2 separate regions of the Homo sapiens genome follow, and region 1 is linked to region 2. The links are contacts of gene promoters, found by promoter capture Hi-C in blood cells and fetal thymus (Javierre and others, 2016). All regions are on one chromosome and are shown on one strand. The core of a region is centred on a gene start or on the middle of the fragment in contact, and the rest is flanking DNA. Distances in the headings are between cores, read along the strand shown.

Region 1 (7,234 bases), core at 3,536-6,035, 300 kb after region 2:
CGAGGGGCGGGGACTACAGAGGATTCTTCCTGCTCTCCATCCTCCTGGGGACCCCCTGGGAAGCCTGGGCAGGACGTATTCTCTACTCCGTGTCGGAGGAGACGGACAAAGGGTCCTTTGTGGGAGACATCGCCAAGGACCTGGGGCTGGAGCCCCGGGAGCTGGCGGAGCGCGGAGTCCGCATCATCTCCAGAGGTAGGACGCAGCTTTTCGCCCTGAACCAGCGCAGCGGCAGCTTGGTCACTGCGGGCAGGATAGACCGGGAAGAGATCTGCGCTCAGAGTGCGCGGTGTCTGGTAAACTTTAACATCCTGATGGAAGATAAAATGAATCTTTACCCTATAGACGTGGAAATAATAGATATTAATGACAACGTTCCAAGATTCTTGACGGAAGAAATAAATGTAAAAATAATGGAGAATACAGCTCCTGGGGTTCGGTTTCCGTTAAGCGAGGCTGGGGATCCAGATGTGGGCACGAACTCCCTCCAGAGTTACCAGCTCAGCCCCAATCGCCACTTCTCCCTGGCTGTGCAAAGTGGAGACGATGAAACTAAGTACCCGGAACTGGTGCTGGAGCGGGTGCTGGACCGGGAGGAAGAGCGGGTTCACCACCTGGTCCTCACAGCCTCTGATGGCGGCGACCCGCCCCGATCCAGCACCGCCCACATCCAGGTGACAGTGGTGGATGTGAATGACCACACGCCTGTCTTCTCTCTGCCTCAGTACCAAGTAACTGTCCCCGAGAATGTGCCAGTGGGTACAAGACTGCTCACGGTACATGCTATCGACCTGGACGAGGGAGTCAATGGGGAAGTGACATATTCTTTTCGGAAAATAACTCCTAAACTTCCAAAGATGTTTCATCTGAACTCGCTTACAGGAGAAATATCAACTTTAGAAGGATTAGATTATGAAGAAACTGCCTTCTATGAAATGGAGGTTCAGGCTCAAGATGGTCCTGGTAGTCTGACAAAGGCAAAAGTACTGATCACAGTTTTAGATGTAAATGATAATGCTCCAGAAGTGACTATGACGTCTTTAAGTAGCTCAATCCCTGAAGACACACCTCTTGGGACAGTCATTGCTCTTTTCTACCTACAAGACAGAGATTCTGGAAAGAATGGTGAGGTGACCTGCACCATTCCAGAAAACCTACCTTTTAAATTAGAAAAATCAATAGATAATTATTATAGATTGGTCACAACCAAAAACTTGGACCGGGAAACACTCTCTTTGTATAACATCACACTGAAAGCCACAGATGGTGGAACTCCTCCCTTGTCCAGGGAAACTCACATATTCATGCAGGTGGCAGACACCAACGATAACCCACCCACCTTCCCCCACTCATCCTACTCAGTCTACATCGCTGAGAACAACCCCAGAGGGGCCTCCATTTTCTTAGTGACTGCACAGGACCACGACAGTGAGGATAATGCCCAGATCACTTATTCCTTGGCCGAAGACACCATCCAGGGGGCTCCAGTGTCCTCCTATGTCTCCATAAACTCTGACACTGGAGTCCTGTACGCGCTGCAATCCTTTGATTATGAGCAGTTGAGAGAACTACAACTAAGAGTGACTGCACATGACAGCGGGGACCCGCCTCTCAGCAGCAACATGTCACTGAGCCTGTTCGTGCTGGACCAGAATGACAACCCGCCCGAGATCCTGTACCCGGCCCTCCCCACAGATGGTTCTACTGGCATGGAGCTGGCACCCCGCTCCGCAGAGCCCGGCTACCTGGTGACCAAGGTGGTGGCGGTGGACAAAGATTCAGGCCAGAACGCCTGGCTGTCATACCTCCTGCTTAAGGCCAGCGAGCCAGGACTCTTTGCGGTTGGGCTGTACACGGGCGAGGTGCGCACGGCTCGGGCCCTGCTGGACAGAGATGCCCTCAAGCAGAGCCTCGTGGTGGCCGTCCAGGACCACGGTCAGCCTCCTCTGTCAGCCACCGTCACACTCACCGTGGCTGTGGCTGACAGCATCCCCGAAGTCTTGGCCGACCTGGGCAGCCTTGAGCCCTCCGACGGTCCTTACAACTATGACCTCACGTTGTACCTGGTGGTGGCGGTGGCCACAGTCTCCTGCGTCTTCCTAGCCTTCGTCCTCGTACTGCTGGCGCTCAGGCTGCGGCGCTGGCACAAGTCACGCCTGCTGCAGGCTTCAGAAGGTGGCTTGGCGAACGTGCCCACCTCGCACTTTGTGGGCATGGACGGGGTGCAGGCTTTCCTGCAGACCTATTCCCATGAGGTCTCCCTCACCGCGGACTCTCGGAAGAGTCACCTGATCTTCCCCCAGCCCAACTATGTAGACATGCTCATCAGCCAGGAGAGCTGTGAGAAAAATGATTCTTTGCTAACATCCGTAGATTTTCAGGAATGTAAAGAAAACCTGCCAAGTATTCAGGTGAGCCCAGCCCTTCCTTTATTTCCATGAGGAATTTATTTGCATGATATTTCTCTATTATTTTGCAAAACAAATGTTTTGAAAATAGGGATTTAAAAAACTTTATAGAGGTAAAAATGAGTTTACCAGTTTCCTTCAGTGGTGACACTTTAATATAGAACACATAGGATATAGTATTTCTTTAGTGAAAGCCTATGGACAAGATTATGAATATGTGGACTATCACATTTTATAATTTCCACCTACTTTCCAATCTATGTTCCAACCTACTTTCTTAACTCATATATTTTATACATTGGAATGAATCGAGTCTTTCATATTGCACAAGGTTAGCAGGAATAAAACACACCTCAGCTGTCTTCTCAGGATTCTCTTTAGCATTCAAATATGTAAAAGGTTCTGAAAGATTTCTTCCATGTGAAGATTTTTTTCTGTGGCTGATTCTGCCTCCATGTACCTCAGCTTGGTGGTCCTAAAAAATCTTGATTGCTTCTTGACCTATTTACAGTATAATCATTTATTAATGGGGTGGTAGTAGAAGGTTGGATTTATGCCTAAAGAATGAAATGTGTGTGTATCACACTTCACTAAGATCTATATCAAAGACAGACATCAAGTCTAATGCCACACTAAAGGCCATCGGACAAAACCAATAAAATATGTCAAATAAAATGTCATTTTAAGTGTTGTAATTGGCATTTGTGACATAGGCAATTACATGTTTTAACAGAGAATTCCAGTATGTTGTTTTAGTGGTACAGCCAGATGAAGTGTGTCTGTGGGCTATCAAAGTGGGAGATTGGGGATACTGGCTTTGTTTCAACTGTCTCACGTACTCAAACCTTAGACCATCTTATGTACACAGATCCTAGACCAGTAGTTGATTTTATTTATTAGGTCTACTGAAAAATTCAGTTGGAAATAACCCAATCTGGGATTAACTACTTCCATATTCTTTTGTATAACATTTTAGTAAAGCTCAGTATATCAAGTGATTGTCATCCAGAAGGGGTGGATGACAAGGTAATCTTGATTCCAGAGACCTTTGAGTATTAATTAAAAACACACTTTTAGCCAGGTATGGTGTTGCAAGCTGTAGCCCACCTGCATGGGAGGCTGAGGCAAGAGGACAGCTTGAACCCAAGAATTGGAGGCCCACCTAGATAATATAACAAGACTCTGTCTCTTCAAAAAAAGACTCTTTTTAGACTAGTGTTGTATTTGGTAGTATTTTGCACATGATAGACTCTGTACAATAGTGTGGGGGATACATTTTTTTTTTTTGACATGGAGTCTCGCTCTGTCACCCAGGCTGGATACATTTTACAAGTTCTGCAGTGTTCACATTTCAGATGTACAATCACTTGGGGTAGAAGACAATGTTGCTGACACCAACAATGTTACTGAGGGAAGATCCTATGGCAGAACTACGGTTATAAGGTATTTTGTAAAAGAAAATCTCCTGACCAAAATTTATTAGATGCATAAAATTGTTTTTAAGCAATGGAGAGACATAATCACTAAACTCAGTGAGCTATTGCAATCAAACTTTCCAGGGATTGTTTCCTTCAATTCAGAGGTCACCAAGGAATGTAAAATAAGTGCAGAGGTAGGAAGCAGTGCTTCAGTGCAGCAGATCTCAGTGACTTTGTGTTTTGAGGCTATGTATTATCCCCCTGATAACTTTGAAGATGAATGTTGTATTTCATAACCAGTAAAATAATTGTGTAATGAGGAGAGGAGTAGGCTACTGCCTGTGATCATCGAAATGAGAATCACATAATATTCCTGTAATGAAATCACTGAAACTATTGGGAAGGGGGTGTATTTGAAGATAAGTATAAATTGCACCTTCTAAAAGGCAATTTTGGTATTACTGATACTCTCCGGAAAAAGTTGAAATAAATCAACTTGGAGGTACTTAGAAAAGTGGAGAAAATGTTAGGAACAATGAAAGAAAGATAAAATGTATCCAGTATATTTCTAATGAGTAAGTATGGAAAATTACTGTACTCTGAGACGGTTTAGGCCAAGTCTGTGTTATGGCTATCTTTATATAGATAGTGCATGTTTGAAGATTGGGGAAAGCTTATGTCAATAAATGTTTATGTACTTAATCTACATGATTTGCCTAAAAATCCTCAAAGTTGGGATGAAGGCATTCCTAAGAGTACATTTTTAGACGTCATTAAATATACAGACGTATCCACGTAGTTTTTGTTCTTTCAGTTAGGCACACAATTATAATTATTGCACTGGTTAACTTGAAGCAGCAGAGGCTGTAGTTTCCTAGTGCTGACTCTGGGCGCCGCTGTTGGCCAAAGTGGAGAGCTTGGCGCTCCAGATCTCCTCGCGCAGCCGCAGCGCGCTTTCCAGGGCAGCCCCAGCTCAGACTCCCCAGCGCCAGCCTTTACACCGCTTCCTCCTCGGAAAAAGAAGAATTTTTTCTTGAACTGGAACTGCAACTAAAGTCCGTTCGGAGATCCAAAAATCTGCAATACAGAGGTTATTTGTAACCCGGCGTCTCCAGGCTGGTGAGCAAGCTGAGGAGAGCAAGAGGGATGGGGAGCGGCGCCGGGGAGCTGGGCCGGGCTGAGAGGCTGCCAGTGCTCTTTCTCTTCCTGCTGTCTTTGTTCTGCCCGGCGCTCTGTGAGCAGATCCGCTACAGGATTCCCGAGGAAATGCCCAAGGGCTCCGTAGTGGGGAACCTCGCCACGGACCTGGGGTTCAGCGTCCAGGAGTTACCGACTCGAAAACTGCGCGTCAGTTCGGAGAAGCCTTACTTCACCGTGAGCGCAGAGAGCGGGGAGTTGCTTGTGAGCAGCAGGCTAGACAGGGAGGAGATATGCGGGAAGAAGCCAGCTTGTGCTCTGGAATTTGAGGCTGTTGCTGAAAATCCACTGAACTTTTATCACGTGAATGTGGAGATCGAGGACATTAATGACCACACGCCAAAATTCACGCAAAATTCCTTTGAGCTGCAAATAAGTGAGTCTGCACAGCCTGGCACACGATTTATATTAGGATCTGCCCATGATGCGGATATTGGTAGCAACACACTGCAGAATTACCAACTCAGTCCCAGTGATCATTTCTCACTGATAAATAAAGAGAAATCAGATGGCAGTAAATACCCTGAGATGGTATTGAAGACACCTTTGGACAGAGAAAAGCAGAAATCCTACCACTTGACTTTGACTGCCTTGGACTTTGGAGCTCCACCCCTAAGCAGCACTGCACAGATACACGTTCTAGTGACTGATGCCAATGATAATGCTCCAGTGTTCAGTCAAGACGTATACAGGGTGAGCCTTTCAGAAAACGTGTACCCGGGGACCACGGTGCTACAGGTGACTGCCACGGACCAGGATGAGGGTGTCAATGCCGAGATTACTTTCTCTTTCAGTGAAGCTAGCCAGATCACCCAATTTGACCTGAACTCTAACACCGGGGAAATTACTGTTTTAAATACATTAGATTTTGAAGAAGTCAAAGAATATTCCATAGTTTTGGAAGCAAGGGACGGTGGAGGAATGATTGCGCAATGCACAGTGGAGGTAGAAGTCATAGATGAAAATGACAACGCCCCAGAAGTGATATTCCAGTCTCTACCCAACCTAATTATGGAGGACGCCGAGCTGGGAACACATATTGCTTTGCTCAAAGTCCGTGACAAGGATTCCAGACACAATGGAGAAGTGACTTGTAAATTGGAAGGTGATGTTCCATTTAAAATATTAACTTCTTCAAGAAACACGTATAAATTAGTGACAGATGCTGTTCTAGACCGCGAGCAGAATCCAGAGTACAATATAACCGTTACGGCAACAGATCGGGGCAAGCCTCCCCTCTCCTCCAGTTCCAGCATCACCCTGCACATTGGTGATGTAAATGACAACGCTCCGGTTTTCTCACAGTCTTCCTATATAGTCCACGTGGCCGAGAACAACCCGCCTGGAGCCTCTATTTCACAAGTCAGGGCTTCTGATCCGGACTTGGGGCCCAACGGCCAAGTCTCTTACTGCATCATGGCCAGTGACCTGGAGCAGCGGGAGCTGTCATCCTACGTGTCCATAAGCGCGGAGAGCGGGGTGGTGTTCGCGCAGCGCGCCTTCGACCACGAGCAGCTGCGCGCCTTCGAACTCACACTGCAGGCCCGCGACCAGGGCTCGCCAGCGCTCAGCGCGAACGTGAGCCTGCGCGTGTTAGTGGACGACCGCAACGACAATGCGCCACGGGTGCTGTACCCCGCGCTGGGTCCCGACGGCTCTGCGCTCTTCGATATGGTGCCGCACGCTGCAGAGCCTGGCTACTTGGTGACCAAGGTAGTGGCGGTGGACGCAGACTCAGGACACAACGCCTGGCTGTCCTACCACGTGCTGCAGGCTAGCGAGCCCGGGCTCTTCAGCCTGGGGCTGCGCACGGGCGAAGTGCGCACAGCGCGTGCCTTAGGCGACAGGGACGCCGTCCGCCAGCGCCTTCTGGTCGCCGTGCGTGACGGTGGACAGCCACCACTCTCGGCCACTGCCACGTTGCACCTGGTCTTCGCCGACAGCTTGCAGGAGGTGCTGCCGGATATCACTGACCGCCCCGACCCCTCTGACCTCCAGGCTGAGCTGCAGTTTTACCTAGTGGTGGCCTTGGCCTTGATCTCAGTGCTCTTCCTCGTGGCCATGATTCTGGCCATTGCCTTGCGCCTGCGACGCTCCTCCAGCCCCGCCTCCTGGAGCTGCTTCCAGCCTGGTCTCTGTGTTAAATCCGAATCCGTGGTTCCCCCCAACTACAGCGAGGGGACTTTGCCTTATTCCTACAATCTATGTGTT
Region 2 (6,526 bases), core at 769-3,268:
CTGAGACTCTTCCTGATACCTCACTTCTGTTCTTAAATATCCCTTTTTAGTACCTGATAGTGCCTATGCAAATCACCGAGTCACCTTTTTAATATTCTAACCTCCTGCGGTGTAGGCACCAGACTTTACTCAACTTTATATCCCCAATGTCTTTTACAGTGCTTGAATATAATCTGTGTGTAAAAAATACCTGCGAAGAATTAATCAGTTCAATGAATTTATGGCCAAATGACTGGCTTGATTGAAATGAAAGAAATCCAATTCGGTTCCTCTCAAAGGAAATCTCACAGCTGATATTATGATAATAAACAACCATTGTTTTTGTTCACATTAAGTAAACTAAATATTGGAGAAGTAATTAAAACTCAAGAGGTGAGAATTCCGCCCCTAGATGTGAATATGAACAGATTTTGACAGTTTCCGCAGGAAAGCGCTGTACAGCCCAGGTTTTCAGTTCGGACGCCTGGTGGCACTACAGGCTAAAAAGTAGGAGGAGGAGGAGCCCTGCATTTGCCTGCAGACTCCATCTTAGAAAAGACAAAATCTGAAAGGTGCTGGGAACAGATACGAGTTGGAAAACGTCCGCAGCGAGCTCAGATTTTAGAGCTTTCTTCAAACGAATGGGGACTACACAAATGTTTGGAAGTCTTACAGGATTTCCGAAGACTTCATTTACTAAAGGCAATGCACTCAGAGGATATACAGGAAATTGTGCGAGAAAAAAATCTGGCAGAAAACGCAGGTGGTGGGTTTTCATTTTCTTCCCGGGTGTAGCGCAGGCGGCCCAGGAAAAGGAAAACTGCTTTTTTATGGTCAGGGTTTCTGGAGATTGGCGCTGGCGGCGGAAAGGGGAGCGGCGGGAGGACAGACTGGAGCAGGATAGTTTCCAAAGAGACCAAATAATATTTCAGATCGACCCACAGAAGAGTCCTTGCTCTCAAGTAGAAAATCGGACCTATAGGAGCCCTGCATTTCCAAGAATTACCTGTATTTAAAAAAAAAAAAAATTTGTCTTTTGAGAAAAATCTGTGTCTGAGGTGTAACCGTTTCCTCCTTTGAAAAATTCTTCTGAATGTTCCAGAATGTGCACCAGGAACATGTATGAGGTTTGGGTAAATTTTCCATCATTGGAAACTACACACTCATTTTCAATTTCCATGTTCACAATAATGTGCTGTGCAATATTGGGGTAAGTAATTTGTCCATACGCGTGAAAAAAATCGCTGGATGAACCACAGCCCAAGGTAAGTTTAACTCTCCCAGAGAAGAATGGTAGATATCTGAGACCTCCTAAGTCCAAGTCATGACAATCAATGACAATCTTTGAGATGCAGGTCTCACAGCAACCGGCTGAAGATTTAGTCTGAGTAAATAATTATGAATCGGCTCTCAGAATTCTCCAGGCTCACTGAATTCTGCAACCTCTGGAGAGCATTTTAAATGCTAGCAGAACATTTTAAATACCACTGATACCCCATGCATCATAAGCATCCACTGCAAGAGAATTACCAGGAAATTTCAGTGCCACGTGGCAAATACTCAGGCAATTACAAGCAGAAATAGTTTCAGAAATTGTTTCTTCATGTGAAGGACGGTGGAAGACCATGCCATTGGATGACAATCACATAGAATTGGTCATGTTGACACTTATCTGCCTCATCCTGGAGCACTTCTGGGAAGACTTCATCTGTTTAAGAACCATAATCTCAGCACCCTGAGATAAAACAACAACAACAACAAAAACAAAACAAAACAAGAAAAAGCTTTGATCCTTCCTACCAGAGTTTTCTTTTCATTGGATATTTAAAATATTCCATAATCTGACAACCTAATAATGCAAACCAGAAAAGAGAGCTACACGCAACATCACTGTATTTCCAATGAAATTAGGTTCCAGGAAGCTCAAAACAAGACAGTAGGTAGAGACAGCTATCATCCTTGGCGTTCTTCCTTTTGGATTCTGGATAAAAGGTAGAGGAATAACAGCACCGTTCTGAATGTTTTGGTTATTTTATGGCTCTAATTTCCATCGTGTTTTTTTTCTGAAGCATAGCTAATTGTTCATTAACAGTTAACAGATATTGATGGCTTAGCTATTTTTATCTTTTTATCTATTTCACAAAGGTCTATTTAGAATCTAGTAGTGTATTTCCTCTTTATTGTTAAGCACAGAAAAGGAACGCATTTTTTTCTGCTCATGCCTAGTTTCCTTTGATCTTTCTCAAAGGTAAATTACCCCTAAAACTTTGAGTAGACTGTCCTAGCAGATATTCTGAAGCTTGACAAGGAAATTCATCCCACTTCAATCCATAAAATGATAGTCTTCGTAACTTCTCAAAGAAGGTCAAGCTATTTATTTTAAAGTCATCTTTTGCTTTTCTTGATATTTCGTAAATGATGGCTGACAAGTTGTGATAGTCTACTTTTCAGCAGGACTGGTCTCCATTTACTTAGTTTAAGTAACTATTTACTTGATTACTATTATTAATATATGGTTTTAACTTTTTATTTGAAATAGTCATTTGATGATTTTGGTGATATTGATGACCACGAAATCAAATGGAGATATACAACTACAAGAAAAAAAACTGTAGAAATAAATGTCTTTTTCGTTATTTAAGACGTAAATCAACTGAGTTGCTGTGTAGCTTATTTATGTCAATGTTAAATTTGTGTTTGTTAATTTTTACTGTTTCCTTATTAAACATCAAAAATGATTAATTCTTTGGCAATTAATATCATAGCATATCCAGTACATTAAATGTCATGTAAAACAGACCGACAAAACAATCTTATCTTTTTTTTCTTTATGTCAGTGTTTAATACTCTCCTGTATGGCTTAGGAAAATTAAAGAAGATACAACAGAATATGCCTCAAATAAGACCTATTTGTTGATATTTAATATATTTATGATAGTTGCTGATAAAATGAAAACAGACATTATTCAATACACTGGATAATAATTACATAAATACAAAGTGTTTGGTGTTTTCATTTGCCTTTCTCAAATACTTTTTTTCTTTCTAGAGAGTTTAATGCACTGACGGGGGGTGGGGGGCGGTCCTATAATGGCACTGCAGGCTCAAATGGTGGTTAAAGCAGATTGCAAATACAGTGCTGTATGTTTCATATTATATTACCCTGTCTGTGAAAGTTGTATTGGATGTCTAAGATTCTGGTGGCATAAGTAATAGAAACATTAGGGTGATCAGAGTTTGTGTAGGACCATATTTGCTGGAAGGTGTTAGAAGAAGGAATAATGTAATACTTAAAGCCCAGTCTAAAACAAAGTGTGATTCTGTTTTACTAAGCATGTACCATTCAGGATACTGAACTGCAGAATTCTGTTCCAGAGGTGCTGGAGAGTGGTTCCTTCATTGCTAATTTTGCAGAGATTTTGGGCCTTAGGATGGGGAACTTGAGAGGTATGGGGAGCGAGAGGGTAATTCATGTTTCTATAGATTTAAAAAACTGCATTTTCAAATCAAAAGACTCAGGAGTGGGTACTAAATAGAAATTGGATCCATCTGTGAGTCTCAAAGCACCTTGGAAAAATGTAACTCATTTGAGTTACTCATTTGCCTTGAGAAAGGTAACTTGGAAAAATGAGTTACATTTTTACAAGGTGCCTTGGACTCACAGATATAGCCATTCACTAGTGTGTATTACTGGATCTAGGAATGCTGCAAAAAATCAAGGAGAGCATCTTGTAGAGACCATATAGATGGCAGAACATGTAGACAGAGCAGTATTCATAAGTATATTTTGAATCCTAATTCCCATGTCTTCTCTTCTGTTTGCTTAGAGAATGGTGGCAGAAAATATCCTGAATGAGGATGGGCAATTTTCTCAGTGGAAAGAAATGGGTTGAGGTTAATTTAACTATCATGATATTGGATGGTGGGTCCCCACATAGATCCAAATCTGCATTGGTCTTCACCAAAGTTGTGGGTTATCAGTGATTTTACTCAGCTGTAATATATAGTAGTTCAGTACAGTAATCCCAGAAAAAAAGTTTTTCCTCCCTGGCTATCACTTTTCTATCAGGAATTTGGATACAAGGTATAATATAAAACTATCTTTAAGGTTTTACCGGGCTACTGAAGACTTAATGAAAACTTTAATAAAGCATTTACATTGGTATAAAAGTACCAAAAGCAAACCCATCACTCAAACCCGTAAATTCCAAGGCTATACTAATCTACAGTGTGGATTCTGAGATCATCAATAATTAAAGACTCTAGAAAATGTAACTTCTTGCTGTAAAAGACAGTCCACTCCTAATCATCATGTCATCATTTATGAACTAGGTCCCAAGGAGCCATATCTGCTTTAAGACCATATCTGCTGTTTCCTGTGTTTCAGATCCAGATCACAGAAAAAAAAATAGATATTTGGGCTTCATAATACCACCTTCCCTTCACCCTAAAGCCTTCAATAGAGGTAGATTAAAGACAAGTACAATTCTATGATTACTGCCAGAGATCTGGAGTTACTGTAAGCTGAAAGGAAACAATATAACCAGGTCTTCATTTTCACCAAACTGCCTCTGCACTTATCAAGTATGAAAACACAGCCCTAGAGTGTGCATTTTAGCAGCACACTGCCATAAACAGAGACTTAGAAAAACACCCAAGTAACTTATTTGCTTCTGGTTTCCCAGGATGTGCAGTACTCCATGACAGTGGACACAAAGAATCTGTTTGTAAGGCCCATAAGAGTCAAGTTCTGTATGAGAGAAACAGACACTACTACTACCATGAGCTAGCAGCATGGTGTTGGTGTGGTTGGTAATATTTGATGGCAATGGCAATTCTCCTTTGTGTTATATTTAATGCAGAACGGATTATGTGATGTTCAAGGTGGTGGCAGTAGAAGGAGACTAGGTCTGGAAGGTCTTCATGTCCTATCAGTTACTCAAAGACTTGAGTCTCCATCTGTATAGCGTGTTAGCCCAACACTGGGAAGTGTGCACACTAGGTTTGTGAGTGATGGTAATCTAGCCAATCATAGACTTCAGGTTATGGTCAAGGACACTGAGATGCCACCTATGTATTCCAGATTCAGACAACAACTGCTGCTGGTCAGCTGTTTCTTTCAGCTCTACTGGCTACATCTTGACAGACCTCAGGAATATGGGGTCTGTCACTTAGATTCCTCACTTAGCATATACTATGGTTTTAGTATTCCTTTGTTTTCTTGTTGGCCTGCTTCTTTACACAGTAGATGTTCAAATAATTACTGTGATATGAAAATATGTTATAATTTTCAAGTATTTCCTTATATTTCTTTAGCATATCTAAATTGATTATTTATGCTTTGTATTTTGTAGTCAGAGTTTCAGGTTTCTTCCCCTCACCCCGTATTCTTTGCCCTCTCTACACCTTTGGATTTCTTCATTATTTACTAATTTTCGATATTGTATTTAGCCATATTATTTTCTTTTCTTTTTTTTTTTTTTTGAGATGGAGTCTCGCTCTGTTGCCCAGGCTGGAGTGCAGTGGCGCCATCTCAGCTCACTGCAAGCTCTGCCTCCCGGGTTCACGCCATTCTCCTGCCTCAGCCTCCCGAGTAGCTGGGACTCCAGGCGCCTGCCACCATGCCCAGCTAATTTTTTGTATTTTTAGTAGAGACAGGGTTTCACCGTGTTAGCTAGGATGGTCTCGATCTCCTGACCTCGTGATCCACCTGCCTTGGCCTCCCAAAGTGCTGGGATTACAGGCATAAGCCACAGCACCCAGTCCATATTTTCTTTTAAAGTAAAATTTCAATAGTGATCTTAGTGAAAATTCAATCATCTACCAGATTACCTAAACCTGATTTAAGTTTTAACCTATTTTAATCATAAAAAAAAGTCTGAGATTTTTGGAAGAGGTCATACCTCTGTCTCTCTCATCTCTATTTCCATCTATATCTGTCTATCTAGCTTTATCTGCAGTCCTGGTCAAGATTTTTATTTTCAAGGGGACAGATTGTCCTAATAGACTCTGATGGTTCTCCTTAAACAAAATTGGGCAAGATTCTTGTGCAGGTATCATTTTAAAAACCTTTTCTTGCTTATTTGTACTGTGGGAAGAGAATAAACAACACCATTTCCCCTTTTTGAGTTATATTTATTTCTTGTTTCATTTGCTTGTTTGTTTGTTGTTGTTGTTGTTGTTTGAGACAGGGTGTCGCTCTGTCTCCCAAGCTGGAGTGCAGTGGTGTGATCTCGGCTTACTGCAACCTCTGCCTCCAGGGCACAAGTGACGCTAACACCCCAGCCCCCTATGTAGCTGGGACTATGGGCGTGAGCCACCACACCTGGCTGATTTTTTTTTTTTTTTTTTGGTAGACATGGGGCTTTGCCACATTGCAGGCTGGTCTTCAAAACTCCTGGACTCAAGCAATCCACCCATCTTGGACTCCCAAAGTGCTGGGATTACAGGTGTGAGCCACCACGTGTAGCCGACCTTTATTTTGAAATCTTGTTTGCTTGAGCTTCATGAAATGTATGTCTTGATAGATTATGGGGAAACTTATTTG

The links. Contacts are between HindIII fragments. The CHiCAGO score rates a contact against its expected background, and 5 or more counts as called.
Region 1: a contact is called between the fragment with the promoter of PCDHGB4 here and a fragment that was not itself captured in region 2, in 1 of 17 cell types (endothelial precursors). The highest score is 6.1, in endothelial precursors.

Annotation. Positions count from the first base shown.
Region 1 is chr5:141,382,913-141,390,146 of GRCh38, forward strand. It overlaps PCDHGB4 (protocadherin gamma subfamily B, 4), which reads left to right and starts at 4,786. Exons shown (of 4, transcript NM_003736.4): 1 at 4,786-7,234. The coding sequence starts at 4,973. All of the region lies in intron 1 of PCDHGA1 (protocadherin gamma subfamily A, 1), which reads left to right. All of the region lies in intron 1 of PCDHGA2 (protocadherin gamma subfamily A, 2), which reads left to right. The region is part of intron 1 of PCDHGA3 (protocadherin gamma subfamily A, 3); the gene reads left to right. It also overlaps PCDHGB1, PCDHGA4, PCDHGB2, PCDHGA5, PCDHGB3 and PCDHGA6, and 2 more genes. The HindIII fragment of the contact is 3,088 bases long and covers 4,498-7,234 here.
Region 2 is chr5:141,084,125-141,090,650 of GRCh38, forward strand. It overlaps PCDHB@. Among named protein-coding and RNA genes, the nearest start is that of PCDHB2, 7.2 kb to the right of the region's middle. The HindIII fragment of the contact is 515 bases long and covers 1,762-2,276 here.